Linked DNA regions of Homo sapiens: region 2 is linked to region 1. The links are contacts of gene promoters, found by promoter capture Hi-C in human tissues and cell types (Jung and others, 2019). All regions are on one chromosome and are shown on one strand. Each heading gives the region's core, a stretch centred on a gene start or on the middle of the fragment in contact. The rest is flanking DNA. Distances are from core to core; before and after follow the strand shown.

Evidence for each region. The method cuts DNA at HindIII sites, captures the fragments that hold promoters and counts their contacts. A contact is called where the count stands out against the background at its distance.
Region 2: a fragment that was not itself captured here is called in contact with the fragment with the promoter of CDC23 in region 1 in 2 of the 25 tissues and cell types used here (dorsolateral prefrontal cortex and mesendoderm cells).

The regions. Positions count from the first base shown.
Region 1 is chr5:138,211,235-138,214,761 of GRCh38, reverse strand. CDC23 (cell division cycle 23) reads left to right here and starts at 1,439. Exons shown (of 16, transcript NM_004661.4): 1 at 1,439-1,610; 2 at 1,699-1,771. The coding sequence starts at 1,450. RefSeq lists an enhancer at 1,128-1,422. The HindIII fragment of the contact is 12,003 bases long and covers 1-3,527 here.
Region 2 is chr5:138,370,214-138,373,629 of GRCh38, reverse strand. KDM3B (lysine demethylase 3B) reads right to left here. Exons shown (of 24, transcript NM_016604.4): 2 at 789-956. Among named protein-coding and RNA genes, the nearest start is that of KDM3B, 19 kb to the right of the region's middle. RefSeq lists enhancers at 1,854-2,354, 2,355-2,855. The HindIII fragment of the contact is 5,343 bases long and covers 1-3,416 here.

The DNA.
Region 1 (3,527 bases), core at 190-2,689:
TTTTTTGTATTTTTAGTAGAGACAGGGGTTTCACCGTGTTAGCCAAGATGGTCTTGATCTCCTGACCTCGTGATCCGCCCGCCTTCGCCTCGCAAAGTGCTGGGATTACCGGCGTGAGCCACCGCGCCCGGCCGAGACCCTTTCTTAAAATAAATAAAATAATAAAATAACAATTTAAAAATAGATAACTTCTATATAACACCCAGTGAATGACAAAATGGTTTCAAAAAAAATTCCCGAGGGGTTGGTAAGATAGTATACTACTATGAAAGGATAAAAACCAAAAAACGCCGAAAATGTTCATGTAATGTTTAAGAACATTGGGCTTTGGAGTAAAATCTGGTTTATAGTCTAGACTCTCTCCTTGGAAGAGTGATAGAACTTCTCTGAGCTTCCGTTTTTTCTTTTTTTTCTTTTCTGGTTTTGTTTTTTTTTTTTTTTTTTTTTGACGGAGTCTCGCTCTGTCGCCCAGGCTGGAGTGCAATGGCACGATCTCGGCTCATTGCAACCTCCGCCTCCCAGGTTCAAGCGATTCTCCTGCCTCAGCCTGCCGAGTAGCTGGGACTACAGACACGTGCCACCACGCCCGGCTAATTTTTATGTATTTTTAGTAGAGACGGGGTTTCACCGTGTTGGCCAGGATGGTCTCGATCTCCTGACCTCGTGATCCGCCCGCCTCGGCCTCCCACAGTGTTGGATTACAGGCTTGAGCCACCGCGCCTGGCCGAGCTTCCGTTTTTCTTTCTATAAAATTGGGATGATACGAATATCATAGTGCTGTTTTTAGGATTAAACCAGATTATAGTTGTAAAAGAGCAGAACCTGTTGTAGGATAAACCCTCAATAAATGTGAAATGTTAACAATTATTGTTAAATAAATGTTACAGAACAATGCTCTCACCCCCACCTCCCCGGGCTACCCGGGGTAAGAAAGGGTAGACAAAGAGGAAAAATCCTCCACATGGGGCGATACATCCTCCTATTTTAAGGAAGAATCCAGAGGCTACCATGCATCTTTCCTAGCATATACATCACTTTGTCATTATCTGGTACAGAGTCGGCCCTGAAACTACACCCTTTCTATTTTTCATCCAATCACATCACCCGTGAAAGGCACTCTCCCTTCTCCACCCTTTCTTGCCCCTACTCCCACCCCTAGCTTCCCAGTTTACTTTTCCCAGTCACTCATTCCCCTCTTCCCCGCCCCGCCCAGAGGTCGTGGCTTCTCCCTCGCCCCGCCTATTTTCTAATTTTCCCGCCTCAGTAGCTCTTGGCCATTTGGGGATGTAGTTGTTTCTTTTCCCCCGCCTCTTCGTGACGTTTCAGAAATAAGACCTATGATTGGTTTTTCCGGAGCAAGAGCCGGCCAATGACAGGCAGATATTTTTGGTGCAGATGGGCAGCCAGTATTATCGCCGATGATTGGCTGGAGTGGCCCGAGTCGGGAAAATGGCTGCGAGTACCTCCATGGTCCCGGTGGCTGTGACGGCGGCAGTGGCGCCTGTCCTGTCCATAAACAGCGATTTCTCAGATTTGCGGGAAATTAAAAAGCAACTGCTGCTTATTGCGGGCCTTACCCGGGAGCGGGGCCTACTACACAGTAGCAAATGGTGAGATGTTGGAGTGGGAAGGGACGGGGCTTGGATCCTTGGCCTTGGGGGGCTTGTCGAGCTGATCTAGTTTGTGTGGGTGTTCCAGGTCGGCGGAGTTGGCTTTCTCTCTCCCTGCATTGCCTCTGGCCGAGCTGCAACCGCCTCCGCCTATTACAGAGGTAAGGACATGTTTACAGTGAGCGCTCCCCATCAACCCAGGGGTGTGCCTCAAGAGCCACTGAGTGCCCTGTCACTGGAGGAGAGCAAACTGCTTAGCAGAAATGTTTGTAGAGGGAATTCAGGCATTCAAAGAGCTGAGTGTTTTAAATGATTTTATCCATTTAGTTTTCTTGAGCTTTGAAAGACTTGGTGGTGCTCTTATTTAAAGCTGGGGAGAATTAGTAAACAATTACTGCTTATGATTTCAGCCTTTTAGGGCTTATAGCCAAACCTAGACATAAGAGTGCCTCATAATAGTAAATATTATTATAAGGAATTATTATAAGGATATCTCATAATAAATACCCAAAAGGATGAGAAGAATCAAAAGTTTTGGTCTGGCGCGGTGGCTCACGCCTGTAATCCCAACACTTTAGGAGGCCGAGGTGGGCGGATCACGAGGTTAGGAGTTCGAGACCAGCTTGGCCAACACGGTGAAACCCCGTCTCTAGTAAAAATACAAAATTAGCCGGACATGGTGGCGCGCGCCTGTAATCCCAGTTACTCGGGAGGCTGAGACAGGAGAATCGCTTAAACCCGGGAGGCGAAGGTTGCAGTGAGCTGAGATCGCGCCATTGCACTCCAGCCCGAGGGCAGAGCGGGACACTGTCTCAAAATAAATAATAAATAAATAAAGTTTTTACAATACCTACACTGTTGTCTGATCAGCATAGCAAATAATGGTTAAGTTTGGGTGCTGGATTGAGACGACTCTGGGTTCAAATGACCTTTGGCAACTTAACCTTCTGAGCCAGTTTCCTCATCTGTGCAGTGACGATAGTAATAGTATCTACTCAATGGGGATATTGAGAGAAGTCAATGAGATAATAATATAGACCGCTTAGAAGTGTGCCTGGTGCTTGCATCTATATTTCGGTCAAGTTCTTTATTAGCAGCACCAATGTGGGCAAATGATTTCTAAGTGACAGCCTTCTCATCTATAGATAATGTTAATAATTGCTGCATTTTCAAGAAGATTAAATAAAGCAATAAGGGTAAAGCATACGGTATACTCTTAGGTAAATTTTTTGAGTCAATGCAGTTTATATTTGTCTCATTAGCTTTTACTCTTGTGCCCACTTTCATAATGCCTAGGCCCATCGTTGGTCCTGAATAGGATAAATAATTGTTTTTGTTGTTTAAATTTTAGATTCAGGGGTTACTTGTGCAGATTTGCTACATGGATATATTGTGTGATTCTGAGGTTGGGCTTCAGTTGAACCCATCATCCAAATAGTGAACATAATACCTGATAGACAGTTTTATTTTATTTTACTTTTTTTTTTTTTTGAGACGGAGTCTTGCTCTTGTTGCCCAGGCTGGAGTGCAATGGCATGATGGCTCACTGCAACCTCTGCCTCCCGGGTTCAAGCAATTCTCCTGCCTCAACCTCCCGAGTAGCTCGGATTACAGGCACCCGTCACCACGCCTGGGTAACTTTTTGTATTTTTAGTAGGGACAGGGTTTCACCCTGTTTACCAGGCTGGTCTGGAACTCCTGACTTCAGGTGATCCACCTACCTTGGCCTCTCAAAGTGCTGGGACCTGGCCAGATAGTTTTCACCCTTTGCTTTCCTCCTTCCCCACTCTTGGAGTCCCTGGTGTCTGTTGTTCCCATCTTTAAGTCCGTGTGTACCCAGTGATCAGCTTCCACTTGTAAGTGAGAACATGCTGTATTTGGGTTTCTATTTCTGTGTTAATTCACTTTGGATAATGG
Region 2 (3,416 bases), core at 714-3,213, 160 kb before region 1:
GCGTCTGTAGTCCCAGCTACTTGGGAGGCTGAGGTGGGAGGATGGCTTAAGCCTGGGGGTCAGAGGTTGCGGTGAGCTCTGATTGCACCGAGCTCTGATTGCACCACTGCATTCCAGCCTGAGTGACAGAGCCAGACCCTGTCTCAAAAAATAAAATAAATTTTATAATGCTATTTTCACTCCATAATTGAAAAAAAAACTTTAAAGGTTACAAATAATGTTTCAAAACCTTGCTCTGAGAAAAGACTAAAGGTGAAAAAATTCTTTTCATTGTTGTTTTTTTTGTTTTTGAGACAGGGGTCTCACTCTGTCCCCCAGGCTGGATGCAGTGGCACAATCACGGCTCACTGTAGCCTCAACCTCCTGGGCTCAAGCCATCCTCCCACCTCAGCCCCACAAGTAGGTGGGACCACAGACATGTGCCACCAGACCTAGCTAATTTTTGTATTTTTTGTAGAGATGGGGTTTTGGCATGTTACCCAGGGTGATCTCAAACTCCTGAGCTTAAGGGATCTTCCTGCTTCAGCCTCCCAAAGTGCTGGGATTACAAGGCGTGAGCCACCGCGTCTGGCCAAAAAAATTCTTTCATATCAAATATCACCTAATATAAAACATTTTGGAGGACAAAGGAGAAAAGACTGCTCCTAATTTTTGCATTAGTAACTTCAGAATAAATGTACGTTAAGGACAAAGTATGTAGTTCTTACACATACTCTGTCCCTAACATGTCATAGTTATATTATAGGAGTAAAGCTCAGACATGTTCCCACCCAGTAAAAGCCACTCACCAGGGCTGGCCATTGTGCAATGGAGACTCGAATGCCCTGGAGAAGGACTGGGTCCTCACGGGGCGCCCATACAAGAGACCCTTCCAGCAGAAGCACGATAACTTCCTCAGCATGAACTTTTACCCAGGAGTGTTGCTTCCAGTTACAGCCATCAAATTCTACAAAGATCTGCAAGAGATAAAAAGCAGTTTGGAAGTCACACTTGGAAAAATCTCACACTATACTTATAAATGAACATAAACCCCACTGTTTTGAACAACTGACTAGGAATAATTCTAACTTGTGTTTAAGTTATTTTAATGGGTGTCAATAATAGCTGATCTTCAGAGCCAGGAAGCTGGTCTCAGCCACATTCTGAAGAGGAGGAACAGAGTTAAGGAGGCATGAACTATTCACAGTCATTCAGTAATTTTTAGTCATGTCCCTACTGAAATTTGCAACTCTTAGTTTCTAATTCGTATCTACACATACTAGCTGAGGGCTTACCATATATAAGGTACTATACTAGGTTCAGGAATACAGAAAGGAATCTGGCATACTTCTTGGTCTCAAAAAGCTCATAATCCAATAGGAAGACATTTTTAATACTTCTATTGAAATGACTGTGAACTTTTAATTATTTTTTGAATAGGTGATGTATGCATATGGCAAAAATTCAAAAAGATAAAATGCTGAAAAACATTGCCCTCCCATTCCTGCGTGTGGATTCTATTGACTGATTGATCGATTGAGACAGGGTCTCACTCTGTCGCCCAAGCTGGAGTGAAATGGCGTGATCTCAGCTCACTGCAACCTCCACATCCTGGGCTCAAAAGATCCTCCTGCCTCAGTCTCCCAAGTAGCTGGAACTACTAGCATGTGCCACCATGCCCGGCTTATTTTTTGTAGAGACGCAGTTTCACCATGTTGCCCAGGCTGGCCTTGAACTCCTGAACAAGGGATCTGTACACCTCAGACTCACAAAGTCTGGGATTGCAGGCATGAGCCACCGTGCCCAGCCTTTTTTAAAATTTAAAATTAAATTAAAATTAATTATTTCGGTAGAGATAGGGTCTTGCTGTGTTACCCAGGCCAGTCTTGAACTTCTGGGCTCAAGTGATCCTCCTACCCTGACCTCCCAAAGTGTTGGGATTACAGGTATGAGCCACCACACCCAGCTGCATGTGGATTCTTAAGTGCAACAGTCAGCAGTAATCTCACATCTGTTAGCAGACACTTGCTGTAGTCACAACAATGCTTTCTTCTTCCCTGAACAGATACTCCACTTCTTGAAATATACTTAAGTAGGCACTGTATTTATACAGCTCTGAAAGCAGATTACATTAAATGAAGCTACATTTTTCTAATAAATATTATGCTTAGATTTGACTTTTTTTTTTTTTTTTTTGAGACAGGGTCTCACTTTGTTGCCCAAACTGAGTGTTGTGGCACAATCATGGCTCACTACAGCCTCGACTTCCTAGGCTCAAGCAATTCTCCCTCAGCCTCCTGGGTAGCTGAGACTACAGGCACACACTACCATGTCCAGGTAATTTTTGATTATTTGTAGAGACAGGGTCTCACTATGTTGCCCAGGCTGGTCTCAAACTCCTGGAGCCAAGCAATCTTCCTGCCTCAGCCTCACAAAGTGCTGGGATTACAGGCGTGAGCTACCCTGGCTGGCCCCAGCTTTGACTTTCTATATAAATTCTGACTTCTGAAGATGAGTGGACACAGCATCAAAAGCTACATATGCGGCCAGGCACGGGGGCTCATGCCTGCCATCCCAGAACTTTGGGAGGCCGAGGCGGGTGGATCACAAGGTCAGGAGTTCACGACCAACTTGGCCAAGATGGTGAAACCCTGTCTCTACTAAAAATACAAAAATTAGCTGGGTATGATGGTGGGCACCTATAATTCCAGCTACTCAGGAGGCTGAGGCAGATGAATCACTTGAACCCAGGAGGCGGAGGTTGCAGTGAGCTGAGATCGTGCCACTGCACTCCAGCCTGGGCAACAAGAGCAAAACTCTGTCTCGGAAAAAAAAAAAAACAAACTCACATGAAACTTCTTAAGGCAACACTAAGTAATGCAGGACAGTATTAGAATCCCCACACATGTGACTCCCAACTGGCAACTGTGGAGTTACCAGGAGGATCTGTAAGTACTAGGGGCACCAGGCATTTCCTGTAGAGTGAATGCCAGGTCTTGCAGATGTATGTGCTATGATTTTTCAAATACATGTAGATGATGTAATTAATAAAATTCAAATCCATTAAAAACTTAATAAAATTTTATGTGTATTTTACCACAGTGGAAAAAATATGAAGGAAAATATTACTGAATTCACAATGGCTTTTTTTTTGTTTGTATACATGTTCTCAAGTAACCAACATAAAAATTATAATGATATGAAAATTCAGGAAATTTATACTTGGAAAGTATGGAACCATAGCTCAGTAGCCTAGCTATCGGTTTAATCTCTTCACAGGCAACAAATACTTGTGAACTGCATTGCTAAAAAGTTATCCCAGAAGTTAAATTCATTATAAAGTTCTAGCTCTATTATCTGTAATACTCCAACAAAGAAATTAGCAATGAGAAAAGTAAGCTTCATTTCTACTTAATAAAAAGATGGAGATGCAAGGC